Linked DNA regions of Homo sapiens: all the other regions are linked to region 3. Evidence: promoter capture Hi-C in human tissues and cell types (Jung and others, 2019). All regions are on one chromosome and are shown on one strand. Each heading gives the region's core, a stretch centred on a gene start or on the middle of the fragment in contact. The rest is flanking DNA. Distances are from core to core; before and after follow the strand shown.

Evidence for each region. Contacts are between HindIII fragments. The study calls those that stand out against the background at their distance.
Region 1: a fragment that was not itself captured here is called in contact with the fragment with the promoter of CNTN5 in region 3 in 1 of the 25 tissues and cell types used here (mesendoderm cells).
Region 2: a fragment that was not itself captured here is called in contact with the fragment with the promoter of CNTN5 in region 3 in 1 of the 25 tissues and cell types used here (H1 embryonic stem cells).
Region 4: a fragment that was not itself captured here is called in contact with the fragment with the promoter of CNTN5 in region 3 in 1 of the 25 tissues and cell types used here (hippocampus).

What each region holds. Positions count from the first base shown.
Region 1 is chr11:99,690,445-99,693,685 of GRCh38, forward strand. All of the region lies in intron 3 of CNTN5 (contactin 5), which reads left to right. Among named protein-coding and RNA genes, the nearest start is that of CNTN5, 670 kb to the left of the region's middle. The HindIII fragment of the contact is 5,448 bases long and covers 1-3,241 here.
Region 2 is chr11:99,674,088-99,676,976 of GRCh38, forward strand. All of the region lies in intron 3 of CNTN5 (contactin 5), which reads left to right. Among named protein-coding and RNA genes, the nearest start is that of CNTN5, 650 kb to the left of the region's middle. The HindIII fragment of the contact is 3,356 bases long and covers 1-2,889 here.
Region 3 is chr11:99,019,673-99,022,712 of GRCh38, forward strand. CNTN5 (contactin 5) reads left to right here and starts at 1,277. Exons shown (of 25, transcript NM_014361.4): 1 at 1,277-1,598. The HindIII fragment of the contact is 4,883 bases long and covers 1-3,040 here.
Region 4 is chr11:98,078,630-98,081,843 of GRCh38, forward strand. No RefSeq gene overlaps it. Among named protein-coding and RNA genes, the nearest start is that of LINC02713, 120 kb to the left of the region's middle. RefSeq lists an enhancer at 1,913-2,482. The HindIII fragment of the contact is 3,488 bases long and covers 1-3,214 here.

The DNA.
Region 1 (3,241 bases), core at 592-3,091, 670 kb after region 3:
CGGGCTCTTTCTTGGTTCCTTATAATTTTTAAGATAGTTTTCTCTTTTTCTAATTCTGTGAAGAATGTCCATGGCAGTTTAATGAGAATAGCATTTAATCTCTAAATTGCTTTAGTCAGTTCGGCCATTTTAAAAAAACTGATTCTTCCTATCTATGATCATGGAATGTTTTTCTACTTGTTTGTGTCATCTCTAATTTCTCTGAGCAAGCAGTCATTTGTAGTTCTCCTTGAAGAGGTCCTTCACATCCCTCGTTAGCTGTATTCATAGGTATTTTATTCTTTTATGTCTCTGCCAGGTTTGGATATTAGGATGATGATGGCCTCATAGAACGAGTTAGGGAGGATTCCTTCCTTCTCAATTTTTTTGGAATAGTTTCAGTAGAAATGATAACAACTCTTTTTTGTACATCTGGTACAATTCAGCTCTCAGCCTGTCTGGTCTTGGGATTTTTTTGGTTGGTAGGCAATTTATTACCACCTTAATTTCAGAACTCATTTTGGTCTACTCAGGGATTTAGTTTCTTTCTTGTCCAGTCTTGGGAGGGTGTATGTATCTAGTAATTTATTCTTTTCTTCTAGATTTTCTTGTTACTTACATAAAAGTGTTTATAATAGTCTCTGATGACTTTTGGTATTTCTGTGAGGTCAGTAGTAATATGGCCATTATTGTTTCTGATTGTGTTTATATGAATCTTCTCTTCTTCTTTATTAGTCTAGCTTGCAGTCTATCTTAATTTTTTCAAAAAAAAAACCAGCACCTGGATTTGTTGGTTTTTTTGAAGAGTGTTTATGTCTCTGTCTTCTTTAACTCAGCTCTGATCTTTATTTCTTGTCTTCTGCTAGCTTTGGGGTTTCTTTGCTCTTGGTTCTCTAGTTTGTTTAGTTGTGATGTTAGGTTGTTAACTTGAGATCTTTCTAGCTTTTTAATGTGGGCTTTTATTGCAGTAAATTTCCCTCTTAACACTGTGGTAGCTGTGTCCCAGAGTTTCTGATGCATTGTATCTTTGTTTTTTATTATTTTCAAATAACTTCCTGATTTGTGCCTTAATATTGTTATTTACCCAAAAGTCATTCAGGAGCAGGTTGTTTGATTTTCATGTAGTTGTATAATTTTGAGTGAATTTCTTAATCTTGAGTTCTAATTTGATTGCACTGTGGTCTAAGCAACTGTTTGTTATGATTTCAGTTCTTTTGCATTTTCTGAGGAGTCTTTTACTTCTGAATATGTGAACAGTTTTTTTAGTAAGTGCCATGTGGTGATGAGAAGAATGTATATTCTGTTCTTGGGTGCAGAGTTTGTAGATATCTGTCGGATCCACTTGATCCAGAGCTGAGTTCAGGTCCTGAATAGTTTTGTAAATTTTCTGTCTCGATGATCTGTCTGATATTGGCAGTGGTGTGTTAGTCTCCCACTATTATTGTGTGGGAGTCTAAGTCTCTTTGAAGGTCTCTAATAATTTGCTTTATGAATCTGGGTGCTCCTGTATTGGGTGCATATATATTTAGGATAGTTAGTTCTTGTTGAATTGAACCCTTTACCATTTGTAATGCCCTTCTTTGTCTTTTCTGATCTTTCTTGGTTTAGTGTCTGTATTGTCAGAAACTAGAATTGCAACCCCTGCTTTTTTAGGTTTTCCATTTGCTTGGTAAATTTTCCTCTTTCTCTTTATTTTCGGCCTATGTGTGTCTTTGCATGTGAGATAGGTCTCTTGAAGACAGCATATGAATGGTTCGTGGTTCTTTATCCAACGTGCCACTCTGTGTCTTTTAATTGGGGCATTTAGCCCATTTACATTCAAGGTTATTGTTATGTGTGGATTTGATTCTGTCATCATGATGCTAGCTGGCTAGTTTACAGACTTGTTTATGTAGTTGCTTCATAGTGTCACTGTTCTATGTATTTCAGTGTGTTTTTGTAGTGGCTGGTAATGGTTTTTCTTTTCCGTGTTTAGTGCTTCCTTAGGAGCACTTGTAACACCGGTCTGGTGGTGACAGTTTCCCGCAGCATTTGTGAAAAAGGACTTTATTTCTCCTTCACTTACAAAGCTTGGTTTTGCAAGATATGATATTCAGGGTTGAAATTTCTTTTCTTTAATAATATTGAATATTTGCCCTCAATCTCTTCTGGTTTGTAAGGTTTCCACTGAGAGGTCCACTGTTAATCTGTTGGGCTTCCCTTTTTTCATGACCTGACCTCTTTCTCTCTGGCATCCCTCAATATTTTTTCTTTTATTCCATCAGTGAAATGTTTTTATAGTCAAATAATTTTGCAAAACATTTTTTTCATAATTCACAAAACAAATGCGTATTTTAAGTGTTCCTATAGTAAAGGAGAATCCTTTAATCTGATATGACACCAATTTTGATTGACTATAGTATACCCTAAACTCATTTTTATTCCAAAAAATTTATTGATATCATTAGAATAGTACACATTTGTGGGACACTTAAGTTTGTAATTATAATAGCTGGGAGAAAGGGTTACAGCCAATAAATCCTGATTGTGGAATCAAGACAGCTTCACAGAGTTGGTGATTGGGCGTGGAAGAATGAAAGCAATATTTAAATAGGTTAATCTAAAACAGGAAGTACATATAAAAATTTGAAGAAAAAATTTTCAAGCTGTAAAAATTACATAAGCAAGCAGTTGAAACATTTCTGCAATAAGATGTAAATATGTACTTCTAGCTATTTTTGAAAGTAATGTAGTCTTCAAAGAAAAACATTAAAAACTGAGTACATGTGTGTTTTCAGTACCTGTGTGCACAGCACAGAAAATACAAATATATTTAAGGCTCATTTTTGGCATCAGAGAGGAAATAATAGTCTTTAAATAATATTACTACAATGGAATTATAGCTAAATTATTCCAATTAAAAAATTCCTTTCTGTATGGAGCTTAGAGTTTGTTTTTAAAACAAACAATTATAGAAATAAATGTGAAATTATGATACATAGTACAAAAGAAGTTACAACCTGTGATGATTGTAAGGGTTTTAAAGGAGGAGGTATTTGAATTGAGGGGTTGAAGGATGAGAAGCTGATGAGGTAAAGGTTATGAAATGAGGCATGACAAGCAGAGGGCACACAGGCCCAGTGGACCGTGAAACATGGGGTCTTCAAGGGTGGATAGAGTAATGGACAGTAGAGCTGGGACAATAGAGGATAGTGAGAGACATGGAGTCTCTGCAAACATAATACCCAAATTGAGTAGTTGACAAGAAAAACAAATTTTATTT
Region 2 (2,889 bases), core at 379-2,878, 650 kb after region 3:
TTCCTTTTTCTCCACAACTTTGTCAGCATCTGTTATTTTTTGACTTCTTAAGCATAGCCATTCTAACTGATGTGAGATGGCATCTCATTGTGGTTTTGATTTGCATTTCTCTAATCATCAGTGATATTGAGCATTTTTTTCCTGTGATTGCTGGCTGCATATATGCCTTCTTTTGAGAAGCAATTGTTTAAGCCCTTGGCCCACCTTTTGATGGTTTTTTTTTCTTGTAAACATGTTTAGGTTCCTTATAGATGCTCGATTTTAGACCTTTGTCAGATGAGAAGTTTGCAAAATTTTTCTCCCGTTATGTAGGTTGCCTGTTCACTCTGTTGATAGTTTCTTTTGCTTTGAAGAAGCTCTTTGCTTTAGTTAGATCTATGTGGGCATTTCTTCTGTTTGTTTTTTATTTTGTTGGTTGCTTGTCACTCCCCATGTTTGCCCTGCTCCCAAGATCTACTAACTCTTCACACAGAACCTCTGGTTGCCTTTGTGAAAGCTGCAAATACCAGGATGCAATCACTCTTGTCAGACCCAAACGAATTGCAGCTGAAAAAGCACAAAGTAGAGGAACTCATGCTTACATGTCTGAGACAAGGATTGTCTCGAGGCTTTTCTAAAATAACCCCACAAAAAATCCCTTCTTTAGGACTGCAGCAATTCAGATAAGATGCTTTCTAAAGAACACTTGCCTAATAACACCATCTTCTCCAGTGAATTGACAGCAACCTTAGCTTTGAACCTCTGAAACCAATGAATTCTGTTTCCAAGAAGCTTATATAAACTTCCCCTTTTTGCCCTTGCTCTGAGCTTTCTCTTACCCTTCCATCTTTGGGTAGATCTGTGGCTTGCCATGGATGTGCATACTGGATTATGATCCTTCTTGATTATTCCCAAATAAATTCATTATATTAGGAGGCATTTTTCTGGTTTTGTTTTGTTTTGTTTTGTTTTGTTTTGTTTCAGGCTGACACTAGGGATGCCTCTTCAGTGTCCTTTGCTCAGAGCAAATCACTCTATTGTTCATCCTACTAACTAATTGTTGGAGTAAACATTGCTTCATGTCCTAAATTTCTCTGAATAATTATTGACTAACTAGTGCTAAATGAGTACAATCTAGTAGGATAGTCACTTTAATAGAGAGTAAACCCATAACTCCAAGTTGAAATCTCGCCCATCAGTACTGGGTGAGGGAATGGATTTTTGTAGATTTCTGAGAATTTTTAAATCCCAGCACTAAAGAAGTCATCTGTGGGAGGGGCCCAGTGTTATCCTAAGGTTATAGATAGATTTTGGTAAAAGAGTAAAAAAATGCAGGCTGGGTGCGGTGGCTCACACCTGTAATCCTAGCACTTTGGGAGGCCGAGGAGGGCAGATTGCCTGAGCTCGGCAGTTCGAGACCAGCCTGGGCAACATGGTGAAACCCTGTTTCTGCTAAAATATAAAAGATATTAGCTGGGCATGGTGGTGGGCACCTGTAATCCCAGCCACTTGGGAGGCTGAGGTAGGAGAGTTGCTTTAACCTGGGAGGTGGAGGTTGCAGTGAGCTGAGATTGTGCCCCACTGCCCTCCAGCCTGTCGACAGAGCAAAACTCTGTCTCAAATAAAAAATTAAAATAGAAACAGATAAATCTAAATGGAAATTCTTTAAAATTCAAGTGTTTTATATTAATGGGAGGAAAACGAGAGAAGGCACATAGCCCCTGCAGTTGTTATATGGGTACTAAATTGTGACTCTGTCAACAAGTAGTTGTGTTACCTTAGTATATCATTTCATTTCCTTGCAAAAAGGAAACAATTGTATCTGACTTGTTACTCTCTAGAGCTGTGTAATATTAGATAATATGTGAGAAAATACTTTGAAAAATACAAAATTCTCTATAGATATTATGATTTTCACTACCATCATCTCAGAACTCTGAGAGTGTTTGTAGATGCCACTCTTGTCTCATTTCTGCCTTCCAGCGATGTTGTAATTTTCGAATGGGATAATATGTAAAACTATGAAGTGTCCAACATGTAATAAATAGTTAATTATTACTTGCTATTCATATTGTGATTTATAATTATTGATTTTATTACATAATTTTCATGCTAGACCATGAGTTCTTATTACTCTGTTTTACTCAGCCCTGCACCACTGGTGCTCAGAATATCTTAAAGATTTAATATATGATTGTTGAATTAATTGGCTAGTTATTGTTAATTACATCAATACCATAGACTACAACATAAAAACGAAAACATTAAGTATCACAGTGGAGCAATAGAGAAGGTAAAAATTCAGAAGCCACCTGGTGATAAAAAGCTAAAACTAACACAGAAATAAATAGACTACATGCTTTTTGTCACATTATGGGATTTTTCCAAGAAATACATTTCTTTCTCATAGGCCCCTCACCAGGCCTCTGCAGTCACTGCATGGTGTTCTGGCACATGTGAAAAGCCTGCTGCAATAAAATTTCAAGGGCTTCTGCCTATAAAATTTTATATACTGCAGACTTTGAATCTGCATTACTTTGCAGAAACAATGGATTTTCGTTTCATAATTTGGTAGTCGTTAAGAAAAAAGAACTTAAGAAAAACATATGTAACAAACCTGCACGTTGTGCCCATATACCCTAGAACTTAAAGTATAATTAAAAAAAAATTAGTAAGTTCTTTAACTTGCCACTGTGGAAAAATAAATCTATACAACAAAGTATGAAACACAAATCATTACAAAGGAAAATTTATTACTGAAATAAAAGTGTGATAAATTAAGGAATTCTGCAGTATATAAAATCTTAAGGCCCTCGGATCTTCTTGTATGCTAATCACACTGCTTAAAGCTTTCCCCTAACATGCAAGGGTGTTGCTAGGTTATTAAAATATGTATATGACATGTTTGAC
Region 3 (3,040 bases), core at 27-2,526:
TAAAAGCAGAGACTGGGTGTTTGTACATCATTGGATGAATGAGAAGCAGCCAAGAAACAGGAAAAGACTAATTTTAATTACCAGAAAAACTGCAAGAGAAAGAACACAGGGCTAGTGGTAGACGGCTTCCAGCTACAGGCTGCCTGGCACTGTACTCTCCTTGCCAATTAGAGCCAGTCAGACCCCATCGGGGGATTCAGTGAGCAGAAGAATCAGCGTCAGTCCAGGGTCAGGCTGCTCTCAAACACACATGAAAAACGGACACCAGCGGACACGGGGTGCGACCCTAGACTCCCATGCAGTTTCTTATACAGACACAGAGATAGAAAGCAGTACGTGGGATTTCCTTTCCATTAAATACAGGTGCAAACCACATTCTCTATGGAAATATATTGCAAAGGAAATGTTATATAATTTATTTAACAAATACCCAATTACCATCAGCCCAATCGTGGGAATTGGAAAACGACTCAAAGACTGAGAGGAAAAAAAAAAAAAAAGTAGAGAGGAGGACTGGCAGAACAATGGCACTAAAGCTGCCACACTGTGGATTTACTACCTGTGTTATTTTTCCAATTACAGCCATTGTAATATAAAAATTCCGAAAAAAAGGTTGCTGAGACCATTCCTTCGCTTTTTTTTAGAACTGAGTCAACACCCCAAATCAAAGAGAAATATAAACAGGCAGAGCCTGATAGTCCTTAGATGAAACGCGTAAGTGCAGAAACAAAAGAGAAGTGCTTCCCATTCAGGACTTAAGAAAATTCTGCAAAGTGAAAAAGTCCACTCTCAAACCGACCTAAGTGAACGCGTCAGTCTGTGCTGCTGCTGTCAGAGGTGTGAGCCGGGGACTACAGGAATCAGAGTGAAGACAGGAGCGGAGGAAGGGACTCTCGCCTGGATCTCCCGTGCCGACTCCAGCCAGCACGTTTGCTTTGTAATCTATGAATGTTAAATACGGAGGGGTTGCAGAGCAGAAACGCTCGGGGAAGGGGGGCAGGTCCTCTGTACTTAGCAGGGAAGGAAAATGCCGGTTGACTAGTGAGACGAGTGGAGAAACACAGAGCACCCTCCGGGAGGCGCACAGTTCGTTAAGCCCAGGGACATGCTCAATGAACCTTTGCAGCAAGAGGCAGTGAGGCGCTGGACGCGGGCGCCGGTGACAGCGCGGGCGGCCGGGGAGGGGCGAGGGGCCGCCCCGGGAGGACACAGCCAGTCAGAGGCGCGGGGCGCAGGGCGCGCGGACGCATTGGAGGAAAACACGCGAGCCCCAAACACACCAGCCGCAGGAGGCGCCGCACCTACTTCCCAATATAACCAACTACGGCGTGGGGGAGCGGAACTGCGAGAAGGCGGCAGCCAAAGTGCCATTAAAGCTCGGGGCGGAGAGGATGCGTTACCTGGGTCCCGTCTGCTGCGAGAGGCAGGGCAAGCTGGAGGATTCCCTCTGAATGATTAAGAACTCCGCAATTCGCCTCTGCCACAGGCTGCAAAGGACCCGAGGAACCGCTCTCTCTGAACTGTGCTGATGGGCAGGAGGATGGGAGACAGGAATTGAGAGTCACAGAGGAAGGACAGTGGAGTCTGGCATCTTATTGGTAAGTGGCTGACATTCCTTTGCCAGTGACTGCGTTCTGTGATTGTGCACTTCATCTCCCAGCCACTTAGGATTTTTGACACACTCTGTTCTGCAAAGCCATCCTTTCTTGCCATGTTGCCAGAATGTAAAAACTGTAAGATGAAGCTTTTTTAAATAAAGGAAACAAAACACGACTTTATTTCCTGCTGGGATTTTATGGCAAAAAGTTGAAACAAGAGTAAATATAACCTATTTGTATATCTCCTAATGCCACCCAAAATAAGAGTAAGCAATTCCTACACGCAAATTGCAAATTGTAAGGCAATAAATGCCAGGATAAAGTGAGGATGTTTCTACAAAAGAAACTAAATGTTTGGAAAATAGGATGCCGTTCTCAGGTACTGAATGTATGCCTTATGTTTGAGCAATGAGTTTCCGAGACTAAATAATTGGGCATCTGGCATTGCAATAACTTGTTAAAATTCAGTAGGGATGCTCTATAAGTGGAGTTCTACAAAGTTCGTGAGACTGAGAAAAACTGTATCTTGGATTATGCTGAGCTTTTTTCTAAAGGTTGTATAGGATTGTGATAGATTAAAAAATTATGTTCAGACATCCTTACCATGTTTTGTAGGGAGATATACGGAAGAGAATATCAATTTGCACATACACAAACCTGAGAATTACTCTGATGACCTGAACAATAAGTTGTTTCAACTATATTTATTTGCGAAAGAACCAGAATCCACTAAATATTTTAGAATTATATTACTTTTAAATCTTAGAACTGTTCTCCCAAGAAAAATACAATTTCATGTGGTAATTTAAATGCAGGTGAGAAGCAAAAAACTTTTAAACTGTTGTATGTTCAATGCCTTACCTACATTTCATTCATTTGTTTCTTAATTTAAAAGAGAAAATCATTTAGAGGGTCAATACTTCTACTTTGATTCTCAATTACGACTGTGGAAATAAGGATGAAAGAAGTAGATGTTCATTAGAATACTAGCATTTAAAATTATAGACAAATAGTCAAATTTAAAAATTAATGCAGATATCATCGATTACTGTTGAATTGCAACAGAATTACAGAAGTACTTATGACCATTACAGGGAGCTTAAAGGAGTTCATTATGATTAATATTGTGACTCTCAGTATTTTAAAAAATAATGATTAGGTCATTAACTGTTTTTGAAAATGCCTGTAGTCAATTTTGAGCAATTCTCATGGTTGCTTGCATATTCTCCTATTTCATGCTCAAATTATTCTAAGTTAAGTGGGGACTAGTATGCTGAGTCTTAAACTTAACAGGCATAAGTTTACTCTGACTCTAATCGAAAAGAGGTATGAGTAAGAATATGTCATATAAAACTAATGATAACAAATTAAAGATATTACATAAAAAGATCATCTAAGTCCATTAAAGGGAAAAAGGCAAAAAAAATCAGAGTTAAAGTTAT
Region 4 (3,214 bases), core at 473-2,972, 940 kb before region 3:
AGGAATTGCTTTTATGGCCTATTGATTAATATATTTTCTTACTTTAGAAACTAGGAACTAAAACCTAGAGACAACAGATATCATATCTACGAAGGTCAGAGGGGTATATTCATTTTATTAAAAGATAAGATTTAAGAATCATACTTTGAAATAAATTTAACACGTATTTCCTAATTTGTAGATTGCTTATTAAAGGGATCATTTGTGAAAATTAGATAAATAAATGTATAAAAGCTATGAGTGCTTACAATCTGTAAAGAGAATACTATTTTAATTTATAGAATTGACTATAATATTTAGAAGTATCTGTGTTACTATAAATAATTAGTTTAAAAATCAGACATGATATAATATGAATAGTTATTCATGCATTTAAAAGACTGGTTTAGGGCTGGGCTCAGTGGCTTATGCCTGCAATCCCAGCACTTTGCTAGGGAAAGATGGGAGGATGGCTGGAGCCCAGCAATTTGAGACCAGTCTGGGAAAACCATAGTGAGACTCTGTCTCTACAAAAAAATTAAAAAATAAGCCAAGCATGGTGGTGTGTGCCCATAGTCCCAGCCACTTGGGAGGCTGAGATAGGAAGAGACCTTGAGACCATGAGACCAGGGCTTCAGAGCCATTATTGTACTCCTGCACTCCAGCCTGAGTGACAGGGAGAGAAAGCCCCTGTTTCAAAAAAATGAAAAGTAAAAAAATAAAAATAAAAGACTAAATTAGTTGCTTAATTACTTTCAGCTTCTGTTTCTAGTTTGCAAATTTGAGTTAAAAACACCAAAATTATAGGATCATTGTGAGAACTAAAAGTGGACTATAAGGTATCAGTAATTTACAAAAGTGATTGCTATTTATATAGTGCCTTCACCAATCTAGATCAATTGGCTAAGTACTAAGTACAATCATGCTACAAAAAAAAAATGACAACAAAAACCTTGATATAGTTTTTATTTTAAAAATTGCTTTACTTTTTATATTGCCTTGTTCTTTTTCACACTGGACAGTGCCAGAGACATGAAGCTGCACTGTATGGTCCATTAGCCCATTCAAGAAGATCCTGTTTCATTTCCAGATATGCTTTATGATATGTCATACTAATATCTCTTGAGTTTCACATTCCTTTTTTTCCTGTGGCTTTCTAGACCCATAAAATAGAAACACATTTTAAAATCAAATGATATTATTTTAAAATAGTTTAGTATCTGATATGGTTTGGATCTGTGTCCCCACCCAAATCTCCTGCTGAAATGTAATCCCCAGTGCTGGAGGTGAGGCCTGGTGGGAGGTGATTGAATCATGGGAAAGTTTCTAATAGTTTAACACCATCCCCCTAGTACTGTTCTTGTGTTGGAGTTCTTGTGAGATCTGGTTGTTTAAAAATGTGTGGCACCTCTCCCTGCTCCTTCCTCCTGCTCTGGCCATGTAAGATGTGCCTGCCTCTCTTTCAACTTTTTCCAAGATTGTAAGTTTCCTAAGGCCTCTCCCAAAGCCAAGCACATGCTGCCATGCTTTCTGTAGAGTCTGCGGAACTGTGAGCCAATTAAACCTCTTTTCCTTATAAATTACCCAGTCTTAGGTAGTTCTTTATAGCAATGCAAGAACTGACTAATACAGAAAATTGGTACCAAGAAGTAGAGCATTCCTATAAAGATACTTGAAAATATGGAAGCAACTTTGGAACTGGGTAATGAGCAGAAGTTTGAAGAGTATGGAGGGCTCAGAAGAAGACAGGAAAATGAGAGAAAGTTTGGAACTTCCTTGAGATCTGTTAAATTGTTGTGACCAAAATGCTGGTAGTGTTTTTGACAGTGAAGTTCAGCCTGAGGACGTCTCTGATGGAGATGAAGAATTTGTTGGGAACTGGAGTGAAGGTCACTTTTGTTATGTGTTAGCAAAGAGGTTGGCAGCATTGTGCCTCTACTCTAGGGACCTATGGAACTTTAAACTTGAGAGTGATGAATTAGGGCATCTGATGGAAGAAATATCTAAGCAGCACAGCATTCAGTATGTGGACCAACTGCTTCTAAAAGCTTATCTTATATGCATTAGCAAAGAAATGACCTGAAACTGGAACTTATATTTAAAAGGAAAGCAGAGAGTAAAAGTTTGAAAAATTTGCAGTCCAACACTGTGATAGAAAATAAAAGCCCATTTTCCAGGAGCAATTCAAGTCAGCTGCAGAAATTTGCATAACTAAAAGGAAAGCAAGTGCTGATAGGCAAGACAATAAGGAAGAGGCCTGGAGGGCATTTCAGAGACTTCTGAGGCAGCCCTTCCCATCACAGGCCTGGAGACATAGGAGGAAAGAATGGTTTTGGGGGCCAGGACGATGACCCCACAGCCCTGTGCAGCCTTGGTATGCTGATTCTCACATCCCAATCACTCCAGTTCTAGCCATGGTTCAAAGGGACCCGTGTACTGCTTGGGCCACTGCTTCAGAGGGTACAAGCTGTAAGCCTTGGTGGCTTCCACATGGTGTTAAGTTTGTGGGTACACAGAGTGTAAGAGTTGAGGTTAGGGAGCCTCCACCTAGATTTCAGAGGATGTATGGAAAAGCTTGGATGTTCAGGCAGAAGCCTGATACAGCACAGAGCCCTCATGGAGAACCTCAACTAGGGAAGTGTGGAGGGGAAATGTGGGGTTGGAATCCCCACACAGAGTCCCAACTGGAGCACTGCGTGATGGAGGTGTGAGAAGAGGGCCACCATCCTCCACACCCTGGAATTGTAAGTCCACCAACACGCTTGCACTGTGTACTTGGAAAAGCTGTAAGCACTCAATGCCAGCCCTTGAGAGAAGCCATAAAGGCACAGCTGCCCAAGGCCTTGGGAGCCAACCCTTTGCATCAGTGTGCTCTAGTTGTGAGATATGGAATCAAATAAGATTATTTTCGAGCTTTAAGATTGCATGACTGCTCTGCTGGGTTTTGGACTTGCATGAGTCATGTAGCCCCCCTTTTTGTGGCTGACTGCTTCATTTTGGAATGGGAGTATTTACCCAGTGCCTGTACCCCCATTGTATCTTGGAAGTAACTAACTTGTTTTTTATTTTACAGGCTCAGAGGTAGAAGAAGCTTGCCTTGTCTTAGATGAGACTTTGGATTGTGGACTTTTGAGTTAATGCTAGACTGAGTTAAGACTTTCAGGGACTGTTTGGAAGGCAGGATTTTATATTGCAAGGTGTAAAGGACGTGGGATTTGGGAGGGGCCAGGAGCAG